Linked DNA regions of Homo sapiens: regions 1, 2, 4 and 5 are each linked to region 3. Evidence: promoter capture Hi-C in 16 types of primary human blood cells and fetal thymus (Javierre and others, 2016). All regions are on one chromosome and are shown on one strand. Each heading gives the region's core, a stretch centred on a gene start or on the middle of the fragment in contact. The rest is flanking DNA. Distances are from core to core; before and after follow the strand shown. Region 1 overlaps DNHD1 (dynein heavy chain domain 1). Region 2 has its middle 15 kb from the start of OR2AG2. Region 3 holds the start of DCHS1 (dachsous cadherin-related 1). Region 4 overlaps DNHD1 (dynein heavy chain domain 1). Region 5 overlaps DNHD1 (dynein heavy chain domain 1).

Region 1 (2,700 bases), core at 163-2,662, 83 kb after region 3:
AGCAGTTGCTCTTATGGATCAGCAAAGAAAGTGGTTTCTTGAGATGGAATCTATATTTCTGATGCTGTGAACATTGTTGAAATGACAACAAATGATTTAGAATATTACATAAACTTAGTTAATAAAGGAACAGCAGGGTTTGAGAGGATTAACTCCAATTTTGAAATAAGTTCTGTAGGTAAAATGCTGTAAAACACCATCACATGCCACAGACAAATTCTTCATGAAAATATGAGTCCATTGATATGGACTCGTATTCACTGTTGTTTTATTTTAAGAAATTGCCACAACCTTCAGCAGTCACCACCCTGATCAGCAGCTATCAATATTAAGGCAAAAAAGATTACTAGCAAAAAGATTACTATTTGCTGAAGGCTCAGATGATTATTAGCATTTTTAGCAATAAAGTATTTTTAAACTAAGGTATGCAATTTTTTTTTTTTTTTTTTTTTTAGACAGGGTCTTGCTCTGTCACCCAGGCTGGAGTACAGTGGCACAATCTCGGCTCGCTGCAACCTCCACCTCCTGGGTTCAAGAGATTCTTCTGCTGCCTCAGTCTCCTGAGTAGCTTGGATTACAGGTGCCCGTCACCACACCTCGCTAATTTTTGTATTTTTAGTAGAGACAGGGTTTCACCATGTTGGCCAGGCTGGTATACCTTGTTTTTTTTTTTAACTTAACATAATGCTATTTCATGCTTAATAGACTACAATATAGTGTAAATGTAACCCATATGCAGTGGGAAACCAAAAAGTTCATGTGACTTGCAATATTCGCCTTATTGTGGTGGTCTGGAACCAAACCCACAATAGCTTCAAGTATGCCTGTATACACTTCTGTTTGCATTTCCTCCCACCACGTAGCTGGTACCTAGCCATAGAGCAAGGGAGCTGAGTTTATTAATACTACGTAAGTTTTGATGCTTGGGGGCAAGGAGTGAAGCTCATATAGGCCTTTGGTTCTGCCATACTCTAACTCAACTTTTGTCGGACAGGCTCGCCCTGGCCTAGCAGGCAGTCATGCAACTAATAATAACAGAAAATATCAAAGCAGCAGAACTCTTGATTCCTTAGCTCCAGCTGCTTGCTCCCTCAAATTTCCCATCTCAGTTAATGACACATGATACACCTAGTTTCTCAAGCTTAAAATCCAAATCACCCTAGATTCTTCCTCTTCCTTTATTCTCCACATCCATTCCATCAGTCCTGCTGGTTTTACCTCCAGAATAGTTCTTAAATCTGTCAGTTCTTCATCTCTATTTAAACCCTTGCCCAAACTCCATTATCCCTTACTTGAATTACTTCAGTTGGGTCCAAATAGATCTTCTACCTTGTCACCCTGGCTTTTCTAGCATCCATCCACCATAGAACAGGCAGAGTGACCTTTGAAAAAATGCAAATTAGATCATATACTCTCCCACCTACTATTTGACAATACATTCTCATTATACTTTTGAAAAATACAAGATCATTACCACGGCCACGTGAGCCACCCCTTTCTATACGTTCCCATCATTTTGGGTCGCTCTGCCCCTCACTCGCCATGCTCTGGCTGCATACGCTGTTTCTTGAACACTTCAAGGTTGTTCCTGCCTCAAGACTTTTGTACCTACTGAGGGCTCTACCTGAATGAATATTCCTTCTAGATCTTTAAATAGCTACTTTCAAATATGCAGAAAGCTTCCTTGACCACTCAGATTATACTAACTGCTCCCGTCTCATCACATACCCTCTTGACGCATCGGTCTATTTTGTTTTCTTTATAGGACTTCAAAATCATCAAAATTATTTATATGTTGGCCTTTTATTGCCTGTTGCCCTACACTAGAATAACCTTATTAGCACATAGAAGAATACCTGGTTCCAAGGAATGCTCAATGAATAATTGTTGAATGAACATAGGACCTTGTATCTTACTTGGCTTTTTTCATATGCATGACTCACTGAGAGAATCCATCGTAGGAGAGGAATGAGTGGTAGGGCAGGATTGAGGCACTGCCAAGAACACCACTAAATGCCTTAAGAAAGAATTTTGAGTGCTAATGTTCTCCTTTCAAACATATCCCTTGTGGATTTAGCACAAGTGCTGAGACCACAGTAGAGAGCGGGGCAAGGATTTAGGATTCTGTGTGTCAGCCACTGCTGGGTCTGCCTAGCTTCTTGGATACATGATTAACACCAAGTCCCACCCCACCCCAACTGTACCCACACTTTCCCCTTCCCGGCTGCCAGGCACATGCCCTCTTCTACCTTCGGTGTGAATATACCTCCTCTTTTCTCAGTTATGCACACTGTACCTTTCTCCTAGTGTGTCACATTCTGCCTTCTTGGTGTGCACACACCCTACTCTACCCCCATATCTCAGAAATCTTTCATGGAATCACTACAACTTTATTTTGGTAGACGGGCTCAAGACAGGGGTGGGCTGCACACATGGACCCTCCTTTGGACACAGGTGTTGGGGGTGAGCTTGGTGGGTAAAGGCAGATGCATCACGATGTTCCTGCTCTGCAGCTTAGCGGTGCCAAGGGGCCCTCCCATGTACACAGGACACGAGTACACAGTCAGGTCGGCTGGGGCTGGCAGGTCACTGGTGCCCGGGGCCTGTGTGCTGATGCTGACGGGAGGCAGAGGGCTGGGTTGGCTGGAAGGACTGTCCTGCAAGGCTCCAGCTATTGGGTCCCACTCCGCATGTAGGACC
Region 2 (2,911 bases), core at 149-2,648, 100 kb before region 3:
ATTGGATGAATGGACAAGCTCCCGACATGCCAGATTCTTAATTATGATGAAAGAATATTATAAATAAAGAAAGGTGTTTATGTCTGTGAGAATTCAAGACCGGTATCATGTGGTGTGAGCAGGCCGTTTTCTTCTAGTCTCTCTCCCACTGATCTTCCACATCTCAAGCTTTCCAGACTAAACACCTGGAGGTGCAGTGAACAGAGCACAGGATAAGGCTTTGACCTTATCAGACAACAAAAGTGAAGATGAAGATGTAGGTAAAAGTGTCATAATTAAAGCATCTTCTTACTCTACCGGAGACATTCATTTGTCTGGAAGGAGTTAGAATTCTTTATGAAAGAAAAGTAGAGAGAAATAAGACTGAGGTAATATTAGTCTTTTGACATCCAAATGGATTAATTATGCCATGCATCAACTTTAGGACTCAGTCACAGAAATGTAGCACATCACAGTCAAGTAGAGAGAGCCCCTGGGGTTTAACTTTACAAAGATGCCTTGAGTTTTTATGTGATTTAGATACTGAATTGAAACCTGGTGGGCTCTTATAGGCCTCCATAGCCGAATGAGTTGACTTGACAATAACAGAGTGTGGAATGCTGGACCAACTTGTAGGCTGGAGGATGTGGCAATCAACTCAGGGTTATGCAGACAGCAAAATTTTTCTTACAGCATTAGCAACTCAGAAACATTGTCCCTGTAGAAAGTGTAGACCCCATGTGAACTAGCCAGTTCAGCAGTGGTGTCCTGCAGAATGCTGAACAACTAGGTTCATAAAAAACAGTGCTCGAGAGACCAGCAGATGGAGCTGCTGCAACAGAAAAACAAGGCTGAGGCTAGAGTTCCTTCTCAGCACCAGAAGCTTGAATAAACCACACTCTTTCCACCACACATTGGGATGAGAAGCAGGGGAAGGCTTTCTTAGTAATCAAGCATCATTTTATCCAACAGAGAATGAATAATTCCTAAAAATATACTAAATTGTCAGGTTAGACTAAATGAAAATTAGATTGAACTATTAGTTTGGTTTGTTGTTTTTTTCTCCTGCTAACCAGTGGATGGGGATTTGAGACGAATATCAAATTATAGACTAAAATAAAGAGAGTAAAATGTTTCTGTACGTTATCTGAGTCATAGTATAAGCCTTAGGATCACCCCCTATTGCCCTTCTGAAGTCATTGATATTTCTCCTTGGATAAGGTTTTCAAAAGAGGAAAGAGAATCACAGAAAGAGAAAGAGTGAGAGATCACAGAAGGGCATATTAATTTACCTTTTTTTCTTCCATTCTCTCTTTCCTGTTTCTGTTTCCTATCTGTCTTTGAGTTTGGGAAGTTGGAGAGAATTTGAACTTGAATCCATAGACCTATTTCTGCTATGTAATTCTTCCTTCTCTTTGTTTTAGAGAATGCTCTTCAGGCAGGAAAGTTTCTCATGAATACCTCCATTCAGCAAACTTTACTAAAGATAAGTGTGAGACCCTGTAATAAACATAGGATATAAAAAAGAGGGAGAAGAGAAACCTGGCTATGGCCCTCACACAGGGAGCAGGGGAAATAGAGAAATCGGCATTTAAACAAGTGATTGCTGCAACAACTATAGTTGAAGAGAAAGGAGCTGAGATTAATTTTTATATTACCTATTTCAAGGCTCATGTTTGTGAAGATATCCCTGACATCCAATCAGTTATGTCTTCATCTTTTGTCAATGTTTACACCTTGCATTTCCATGCTACTTATATTTTATTCTGTCTTCTGTTCACATTCTTCTGGTATATAAAGGAATTTTATTTTATTTTATTTTATTTTTTAATTTGTATATATATATATATACACATAGTAGGTGTATATATTTATGGGGTACATGAGATATTTTAATGCAGGAACACATGATAATCACATCAGAGTAAATGGGGTACCCATCACCTCAAGCTTTCATATTTATTTGTGTTAGAAACATTCCCATTATACCGTTCGCATTCTTTCCACCAGTTTTTGCACATCCTTGGAAGAAAATCTATGTCTAATCTACTCCCTAAAGCTCTGGGTCCTGGCAAAATTGTAGACACATAGGAAATGAGTGTGAAATAATCTCACTCTCAAGCTGTGCAAAAACCTATGCTCAAAGATGTTAATTGCCGTGCTATTTATAATAGTGAAAATGTAGGAACCTGGTTGGCTGTCAGTAGTGACCTGGTTAATTACATACAAAGGGATATTATGTAGGCTTTAAAGTTAATTATTAAACTATACCAATATTTGTTGACCTAGAAAGATATCCCTAGTAGATTTTGAGTGAAAATGAGATTATAGGAGAGTATATATACTATACATTGCCATAAATGCAAAATTATACATATTTAACTATGTGTCTATATGCCTGAAAGAATTGCTATTAAAATGTTCACAGAAGGTAATTTGAATGGTGGGATTTTGTGTGCTTTTTTCTTTCTTATGTTTTCCTACATTTTCAAACATTTTTTCAGTGACTACACGTTATTTAAAAAAAAAAACAACAACAAAGATTTTCAAAAATTCCATCAAAATTTGATTCTTTTCTGTTTTCATATTTAAAACTTAAACATCACATTTCATAGTAGCTCTCAATGGGGCAATCCAAATATTTTAAGGACATTTGACAATGTTTAGAGACATTTTTGTTGTCATAACTGTGAGGAGTGCTGCTAGCATCTAGTGAGTAGAGGCCAGAGGTGCTGCTAGACATCCTATAATGCACAGAACAGTTCCCCACAATAAATTATCTGGCCCTAAATGTTAACTGTGCTGGAGTTGGGAAAATCTCAGAATTCAGTATCCTGATCTGCTCTTTATCGCCATCTGTTGGTGAAAGACATGTCTGCAACTTCCACGCAGTTTTAGCCAGAAGCCAAACTTAGGGCCTCGGAAATAAGAT
Region 3 (2,700 bases), core at 5-2,504:
ACCCCAGTCTCTCCCTCACTCCTCTTCCAAAATCACACTCCCTTCTTCTTCAGCTGAAACTGTGTTCCTTCTCCACAGAAGTTCCTGATTTCTTTGTGCCATTTGTACACATCTCAAGTCCAGAAAACCTGTTTTTCTCACAGTCTACTCGCAGTCCTAAGGAAGAAGGACAGGAGTCAGAACTCTTCCCAGTTCCTTTAAGATTGCTTGCTCTTTGTCTCTGTCTGATTTCCCCTCTCCCCATATTCTCTCCCAAGTTGGTTTTTTGAGCCCCTTCCCACTTCCCTGCCCGGTTTCCTCCTCACTTAATTTTTCTAGGGAGTATATCGTGAGTGGGACCACCATCCCCAAAGCTCTTCTTTCCAATATCTCCCGATCTCTACCCTCAAATTTGGGATAAAGAGAAAGTGGGGGAAAGGGAGCCTGGGGGTGAAGGAGAGAAAAGAGACAGAAATCATGGGATAATGAAAAGTGACTAACAGGGGAGAAGGCCGAGGTTACGATGGAAGAAGGGGAAGAGACAGCGGGTAGTGAAAAGGGCAGGGGTGAGAAAAGGGAATGAGGAGAAGGCGTGAGGAAAAGGGGATGATGAGGTGAGGCGAAAGACACAGGGAGAAGGGGATGGGGAGAAAGGTGGGGAGAAGAGACGGGGAGAAAGGGATAGGAAGAAAAGGATAAAAGGAGAGGTGGGGAAGGAGAATCTGATGTAAAGAGGCTGGAGAGAGATCAAGCAGAAGGGGTAAGGAGAAGAGAAAGGGGAGAAGAGCTGGGGAGAAAATGATGGAGATGGGGCGAGAAGAAGAGGATGGGAGAAAGGCAGAGGGGAATGGAGATGACGGTTGGGAAAAAGAAGGGGCGAGAGGGAGACCAGGGCACTGAGGGAGAAGAGGGGAATAGGGGATGGAAAGAAGATGGAAGAGGAGGAGGTGAGCAGCAGGGAGCGGCGAGAAGGGGAAGAGACGAGAGGGCGTAGAGAACCGAATGGGAGGAGAGGACGGGAGAAGTGACGGGGAGAAGGGAAGGGAACCGGGACGGGGGCGCGGCGCGGCGCTGGGGCCGGATCCGGAGCCGGGGCCTGGGGCCGGGAAGTGGAGGGGCGGAGGGAGGCCGGGCGGGCGCCGGGGGGAAGGGGGGGCGGCGGCGCGGAGCGCGGGTGGGGGCGGGGGCGGGGGCTCCGCGGGCGGAGGGGCGGGGGCTCGGGTTACCGCGCGGAGGGCGGGGGGAGGGGAGGGGAGGGGGCGCGGGGCCGCGGCAGCGGAGCTCGCATCCTCGGCGGGGCGGCTGTGCAGGAGGCGGCGCCCGGGCGTCAGCGGACGGACCGATCGACGGCCAAGGGCGCGCGGACCGACGGCGGCTGCCCGGAGGGGATCGCGGGCCTCGGAGACAGCGACTGCGGACGATGCGCGGCCTCAGGCCCCGCGCGAGCGGGCGCTGCCCGGGGGGCTGACCGCGGCCGGACGGCGCCCCAGCACCGGGCGAGGGAGCCCGCGTCGCGCGGAGGTCAGTGCCCGCGCCCGCCCGGCCCGTCTGGCCGCGCCCGCCCTGCCCGCCGGCCTCCCCTGGGCTGCGGCAGCGGCGGCGGAGCCGGGGGCTTTGTTCTGAGCCGGAGACAATGGGGGAGGGGGGGCCTGGGCCTGCGGGACCCGGGCGGGCGTGAACGTGAGCGTGGGGGCAGGGCCTGGGGGTCTTTGTGTGCGTGTGTCATCGAGTCGGGGAGGGTGGCGGCGGGAGCGTGCGCCGGGGGTGTGGGGTGCGACAGCGTTGTGTTCCAGTGCATCGTCGGAGTGTGTCAGTGCGTGTCACTGGGAGGTTGTGTGTCCCTGGGCGTCTCTCTGGCTGTGTGTGCATGTGCGTGTCACTCTGAGGGTGTGAGGGTCAGAATGACCGTGTGTCATGGTGAGCGAGTCCCTGTGAGGGTGTGTTGCCCGCTCTGTGGGAGCCCATGTGTCAGAATGTGGAGGATGGGTGTGTGACAGAGACCAACTGAGACAGAGACAAAGAAACTGAGTGGGGAGAAGTACAGAGAAGCAGAGGAGAGGCAGGCACAGCCTGAAGTGGATGGAGGGGGGGGTCACCCAGACGTGTTCTGAGTGGGAGATTGGAGCAACTGGGAGTTTGTGTCTGGGATACCCAGCTCAGAATCCCGTGCAGGGGACAGAGCAAGGTCACCGCAGGCGTGGGTCCCACGTGGAGGGGGTGGGGAGAGGGAGGTCTAGAAGCACAATGAACTCAGTGTGGCGGGCTGGGCCCACAGCCACAAGGTCATAGGCCAGAAAAATATTGTCGCTTATGTCAACTTCTCAAATACCCATAGGGACACAGTCATAGCCCTACTCAACCCACAAGAGGACACAGTCCCAGGGAACACACATCCTCAAGAGATACCCTCACAGCCATCATACACTTCCAGGAAGCCCACCCCCAGGAAGCACCCCCAGTCAGAACCAACACACACCTACAGCAGACTCTATCAAGCCAACACACACCTACGGAAAATGCTCTCATGACAACACACACCCACAGGAGAAATGCTGCAACCAACATACTCCCACCGGTTCATTGTCAAGGCCAACACATACCATGGAAGACATTGTTACTGCTAACACTCTCCAGAAACACTGTCACCAGCAACAAACAAGTAGACCAGCACCTCTCAGGAGACATTGTCACTGCAATCCACATCCATCAGAAGCACTGTCA
Region 4 (2,804 bases), core at 240-2,739, 120 kb after region 3:
AAAGGCTACGTTCTATAAGGAGAACTTACATTTCTCCCACACATGCTTTTAGCCCCTGACCCCATCACATTCTGATGGAACATTCACTTGTTTGCCTTCCTTACCAGACTGTGAGCCCCCATACCCCCACCCTAAGCACAACACCTGCCATGGTCAATATATGATGTTTTTGTCCTGAAATTTTCATTTATAAAAGACACCAGTGAAGGTGTGTGATTCCCAAGGCTTGCTTGGGGTCATACAGGACACAGAACCCTGAGTTCCAACTCTTACTTCAGTTGAAGGGTCTATCACAGAGTGATAATGGAGGGTGCAGGGATCCTCAGTACCAGTGAAGATGGCATAGGCGTGGTGCAGTTCACTGAGGTCGCTGACTGTGTTCTGGAACTGACGCTCTAGGGAGACGAGCTGGTGCTCAGTACTCCTCTGATCTTGTGTGGGGTCCATAAAGGGACCGGAGAGGGCCTTCGCAAGCAGGCCTTCCAGCTCTGCCAATGCTGCTGCCATCAGCTGCTGCAGCTTGGGCATAATGGCATGTCGCTTGCTGAGCAGGAACTCTGAAGCCTGGCTTTTCTCAAACTGAAATGCCTCCCACATATCCAGAAGCTGTGGGGCAAGCAGAGGGCAGTGGAGTAGATGTGGTTGTGGGGGAGGAGGGCAGGGAGGGATGGGTGACTCCCCGAATTGCCTTCTCACCGAGATGTCCAGTGCTTCATTCTCAGCACTAAAGAGGCTAAAGTGGTTGCGGATGAGTTCGTGGAGTGCCCGTACGTATTCCATTCGCTCCTCCAGCTCGACGTACTGTTCATTGGCTTCATTCAACTGCAGGAATTACAGCATGAGACCGGCAGCCCCACAACCCCATGTACCTCTTTGGTCCCATCCCCAAGGGGAACTCCCACCTTTTGGAGTGAAGTCTCCAGACCCAGTTGCAGCCTTGTAATCAACTGGAATCAGGGGCAATCTCTCCTGAGGGATCTCTCCAGAGGGATCAAATCTCTCTCTGACCCAGATCTCTCTGGTGAAGGGTCCACTTCTCACCCACCACCCCATTACCTTGATGACAAGGCAACAATTTTCTATCTGACTGTCACAGAGAGCACAACTCTCTCATCACACCAGGGCCTCCCTGTGACATGAGGAACCTGAGGGCCACATGGACAGGGTAAGAATTAGCAAGGGTAGATCTCTTAGGCGAGCACAGTTTAAGAGCATCAAGCTCTGCTGGGGGCTCAGCAGAGACCTGAAGAGAGTGTGCTGAGCTTTTGAGCAGGATGGGCCCTGAATAAACTGGGAAGGATGGATGGGGAGAGCCCACCTTCTGGGTGCACTGTGCAATGGCATGAATATCTGAGTTGATGGTTCGGAAGATATGCATGAAATCTGTGAGCTCTGTCATGAGTTGTTGACTGAGGTTCCAGCACTCATTTTGCACGTGTGCAAGAATGTCCTTCCTTATGCTGTTCAGCTTGGATTCTGGAGACAGGAGAGTAAGGTGTGAGGGGACGCATAAAAAAGAAGGGGTGCTGGGGACAGTGCTGTGGTCCAGAGTGGGAGTAGGCTGAATGGCAGGTCAGACCATGAATTATCTCATTTAATGCTTGTTGAATCCCTGCTCAATGTCCAGTCAGCTGCTATGCACTGGGGACTGTGCTCTATACTGGTAGACGAGAGCAAATGAATGAGACAGAAAGTTTCCCCACCCTGAAAAGCTCACAATATGAGGCAGAGACAGACATACAAATGAGCAATCACAAATCAGTGTGATAAATCCACTGTGAGTGCCTGGAGCCTTCAGCCAGTATAGCTAAGAGGTGGGGGTGCCGGGGGGTATCCTGAGAAGGCTGGGCAAGGCCCCTTCAGAGAAGGGAACACTGGAGTTGGATGTGTTGAGTATTAATTCTCCAAAAAGATGAAACAGTGTGTGCAACAGTATGGAAATGACATGTTTGTGAATAGCAGAGTATCCTAGCAGACATAAAAGTATTCTGGTTTTGGAGTCTTACTGCCCTTGCTCTAGAAGAAGGGGACCAAGAAGGTAGTATGATCTGCCTTTTGTTTTTAAGGATTAAAGTAAAGAAAGTCTCAGGTGGATAAGGGGCTAGAAAGTAATCCTGGAAGCTGCCCTTGGCAGTATGAACAACTTTATTATCTCAGAGGGCAGGGATAACACCCATATGATACCTCATAAAATCTAAGATCCCGTTGTAAGAAGCACCATTATTTTATATACCACTAACAAAGAAAAAAAACTGATGCCATCTAAACTCTAACACATCTTCAATCATGAGACACCTTTAAAGTTCAGAGATGTTAAAATATGCACAGAATAGGAAAAATACAATATAGAAATATGGTACACCAAATAGAGTATAGAGTGCTTTCTACATACCAGACACTATTTCAAGTACTTTAATTATATTTTATCCTCACAAATTCCCTTTGAAGTAAATACTATTATTTTACAGATAAGCAAACTGAAGCTCAGAGAGGTTATGTCACTTGATCAACATCACACAGTGGCAGAGCAAGGATTCAGACTCAGGCAGCATGGCTCCACTTCATTATATTTTAAATATAAACATGTTTATGTTATAAATATAAATGTAAACATAAAAATATATGTTTATAAAAAGTATTTAAAAATATTTTTTATGTTATGTGCAAAGTAAACTGACCGATCCTCTATTAGCATCTCTGCAACTAGTAAGTAAAATAGTGAGTTTGGGGGACAGATAATTGAGACATACTGGGTATGTCACTTTCAGAGACTTGGAGGAAGTAACCAAGATGACTGGGTACTA
Region 5 (2,700 bases), core at 179-2,678, 100 kb after region 3:
AACTTGTCTTTTCTAATTTTAAAAGCTTTTATTTCTTTTTCTTAATTGCGTCGATGTGGTCTCCAGTACAGTGTTGAATAGAAGCAGTGAGTATGTTCTTGCCTTTTAACTGATTTTAGGGGGACAGTATTCAATATTTAACCATTAAGTATGTATTTAGCTGTAAGTATAATAGATGCTTTTCATCAAATTGAGAAAGTTATCTTCTATTCCTAGTTTCCTGGGAGTTATGGAATAGTGTTGGAATTTTGTCAAGTGATTTTTATCTACTAATATTACTTACTCATTTGCTCCTTTATTCTGTTAATGTGAGCTACACTGATTGATTTTTCAATGTTTAGTCAGCTTTGCCTTCCCAGGATAGACTCCGTTTGGTCTTAAGATATTATTCTTTTTGTATGTTGCTGAATTTTATTTAATAATATTTCAGTGAGGATTTATTTTTGCATTTAGGTTTATGAAAGATAACAGTTTATTTCTTTGCTTGAAATGTCTTCATCATGGCTTAGTATTCTCCATTTTCTGAAAAAGTATATATAAGTTGTACTTTTTTTCTAAATATTTGATATAATTCAACTGTATAACCATCTGGGACTGGAAACATTTATTATGCATTCAAACTTTTCTTAGGTATGAGGCTGTTCATTTTCTATTATTTTTCTTCTTTTGTTCAAGCTTTGACAAGTTATGTTTTTGTAAGGCATGTGATATGGTTTGGCTCTGTGTCCCCAACCAAATTTTGTCTTGAATTGTAATCCCCATATGTTGAGGGAGGGACCTGGTGGGAGGTGAGTGGATCACGGGGCCGGCTTCCCCCATGCTGTTCTCATGATAGTGAGCAATTTCTCATAAGTTCTGATGGTACATCTCTTCACCCCACCCCGCCCCCGCCAACTGCTATGTAAGATGTGCCTTGCCTCCCCTTCGCCTTTTGCCACGACTTTAAGTTTCCTGAGGGCTCCCCATCCATGCGGAACTGTGAGTCAATTAAACCTACTTATATATATATATTTTTTGGGACGAAGTTTTGCTCTTGTCACCCAGGCTGGAGTGCAATGGCGTGATCCTGGCTCGTTGCAACCTCTGCCTCCCAGGTTCAAGCGATTCTCCTGCCTCAGCCTCCCAAGTAGTTGGGATTACAGGTGACCCCCACCACACCCAGCTAATTTTTGTATTTTTAGTAGAGATGGGGTTTCACCATGTTGGCCAGGCTGGTCTCAAACTCCTGACCTCAAGGGATCAACCTGCCTCAGCCTCCCAAAGTGCTGGGATTACAGGCGTGAGCCACCATGCCTGGCCTAACCCTCTTTTCTTTATGAATTACCCAGTCTCAAGTAGTTCTTTATTGCAGTGTGAAAACAGACTAATACAGCATGTATCCATTTCACCTAAGTTGCTAAATTTATTAGCATAAAGTTTTTCATAATTTTCCCTTATTATCCATTTTTTAAAACTTTTTTTTTTAAATGAGGGTCCCACTATGCTGCCCAGGCTGGTCTTGAACTCCTGGCCTTAAGAAATCCTCCTGCCTAAGCCTCCCTCCCTAGTAGCTGGGATTACAGGTGCATGCCACCATGCCTGGCTCCCCTTTTTTTTTTTGGAGACGGAGTCTCGCTCTGTCACCAGGCTGGAGTGCAGTGGTGCAAATCTCAGCTCACCGCAACTTCCACCTCCCTGGTTCAAGCAATTCTCCTGCCTCAGCCTCCCGAGTAGCTGTGATTACAGGTACATGCCACCATGCCCAGCTAATTTTTGCATTTTTAGTAGAGACGGGGTTTCACCATGTTGGCCAGGATGGTCTCCATCTCCTGACCTCGTGATCTGCCCTCCTTGGCCTCCCAAAGTGCCGGGATTACAGGCGTGAGCCACAGTGCCCGGCCCTGGCTCCCTTTTTATCCTTTTAAATATCTTTAATAAAACCTCTTTCATTCCTGATATTCAAAATTTATGTTTTCCTTTTCATTTCTTGATTTGTGTTAATAGGCGATTGTCAATTTTATCTTTTTCAAAGAAACAAAATATGGCTTTGTTGATATTCTCCATTGTTTGTATGTTTTTCTATTTCACTGATTTCTGCTCTGTTCTTTATTATTGATTTCCTTTTAATTGCTTTGGGTATAACTTGCTCTTCTTTTTCTAGAGTCTTAAGCTGAAAATTTAGGTCATTGATTCCAAGCTTTTCTCTCTAAGATAGATATTTAAAGCTATAACCTTTAGTTGCATCTCACAAATTTTGATATGTTTTGTTTTCATTATTATTTAGTTCAAAACATTCTCTAATTTCTCTTGTAATTTCTTTTTTGGTACATTATTTAGAAGTGTGTTAATTTTAAAGAATTTGGAAATTCTCTAGGCATCTTATCAATATTTGTATTGTTATGGTCAGATAAAATATTATTTAAAATGTTAATCCTTTGAAATTTGTTGAGACTTATTTTGTAACCCAGCATATGGTCTATCTTGGTGAATGTTTCATGTGCATTTGAAAAGAAGGTGCATTTTGCAGTTGGTGAGTATAATGTTTTGTAAATGTCAGTGTGTTGCTAGTGTTATTCAGATCTTTAATGTCCCTACTTTCTTGCTCCTTGTCTTATCAGTTATTGTGAGAGGCATATTAATTTCTTAATATGATTTCAGATTTACTATGTCTCTTTTGTTTCTATTGGCTTTTTTTCCCTATACTTAAATGTCTATTTTAGG

The links. Contacts are between HindIII fragments. The CHiCAGO score rates a contact against its expected background, and 5 or more counts as called.
Region 1: a fragment that was not itself captured here is called in contact with the fragment with the promoter of DCHS1 in region 3 in 4 of 17 cell types (non-activated CD4 T cells, total CD8 T cells, naive B cells and 1 more); the score reaches 6.2 in non-activated CD4 T cells.
Region 2: a fragment that was not itself captured here is called in contact with the fragment with the promoter of DCHS1 in region 3 in 2 of 17 cell types (non-activated CD4 T cells and activated CD4 T cells); the score reaches 7.5 in non-activated CD4 T cells.
Region 4: a fragment that was not itself captured here is called in contact with the fragment with the promoter of DCHS1 in region 3 in 14 of 17 cell types (activated CD4 T cells, total CD8 T cells, megakaryocytes and 11 more); the score reaches 10.7 in activated CD4 T cells.
Region 5: a fragment that was not itself captured here is called in contact with the fragment with the promoter of DCHS1 in region 3 in 4 of 17 cell types (activated CD4 T cells, total CD8 T cells, naive CD4 T cells and 1 more); the score reaches 6.9 in activated CD4 T cells.

The regions. Positions count from the first base shown.
Region 1 is chr11:6,571,695-6,574,394 of GRCh38, reverse strand. DNHD1 (dynein heavy chain domain 1) reads right to left here. Exons shown (of 43, transcript NM_144666.3): 43 at 2,375-2,700. The coding sequence ends at 2,409. Among named protein-coding and RNA genes, the nearest start is that of RRP8, 31 kb to the left of the region's middle. The HindIII fragment of the contact is 538 bases long and covers 1,144-1,681 here.
Region 2 is chr11:6,755,465-6,758,375 of GRCh38, reverse strand. No RefSeq gene overlaps it. Among named protein-coding and RNA genes, the nearest start is that of OR2AG2, 15 kb to the left of the region's middle. The HindIII fragment of the contact is 1,067 bases long and covers 865-1,931 here.
Region 3 is chr11:6,654,363-6,657,062 of GRCh38, reverse strand. It overlaps DCHS1 (dachsous cadherin-related 1), which reads left to right and starts at 1,254. Exons shown (of 21, transcript NM_003737.4): 1 at 1,254-1,500. The HindIII fragment of the contact is 4,247 bases long and covers 1-2,700 here.
Region 4 is chr11:6,531,699-6,534,502 of GRCh38, reverse strand. DNHD1 (dynein heavy chain domain 1) reads right to left here. Exons shown (of 43, transcript NM_144666.3): 13 at 1,319-1,476; 14 at 330-822. Among named protein-coding and RNA genes, the nearest start is that of DNHD1, 36 kb to the right of the region's middle. The HindIII fragment of the contact is 4,335 bases long and covers 1-2,804 here.
Region 5 is chr11:6,550,841-6,553,540 of GRCh38, reverse strand. The region is part of intron 24 of DNHD1 (dynein heavy chain domain 1); the gene reads right to left. Among named protein-coding and RNA genes, the nearest start is that of RRP8, 51 kb to the left of the region's middle. The HindIII fragment of the contact is 1,501 bases long and covers 678-2,178 here.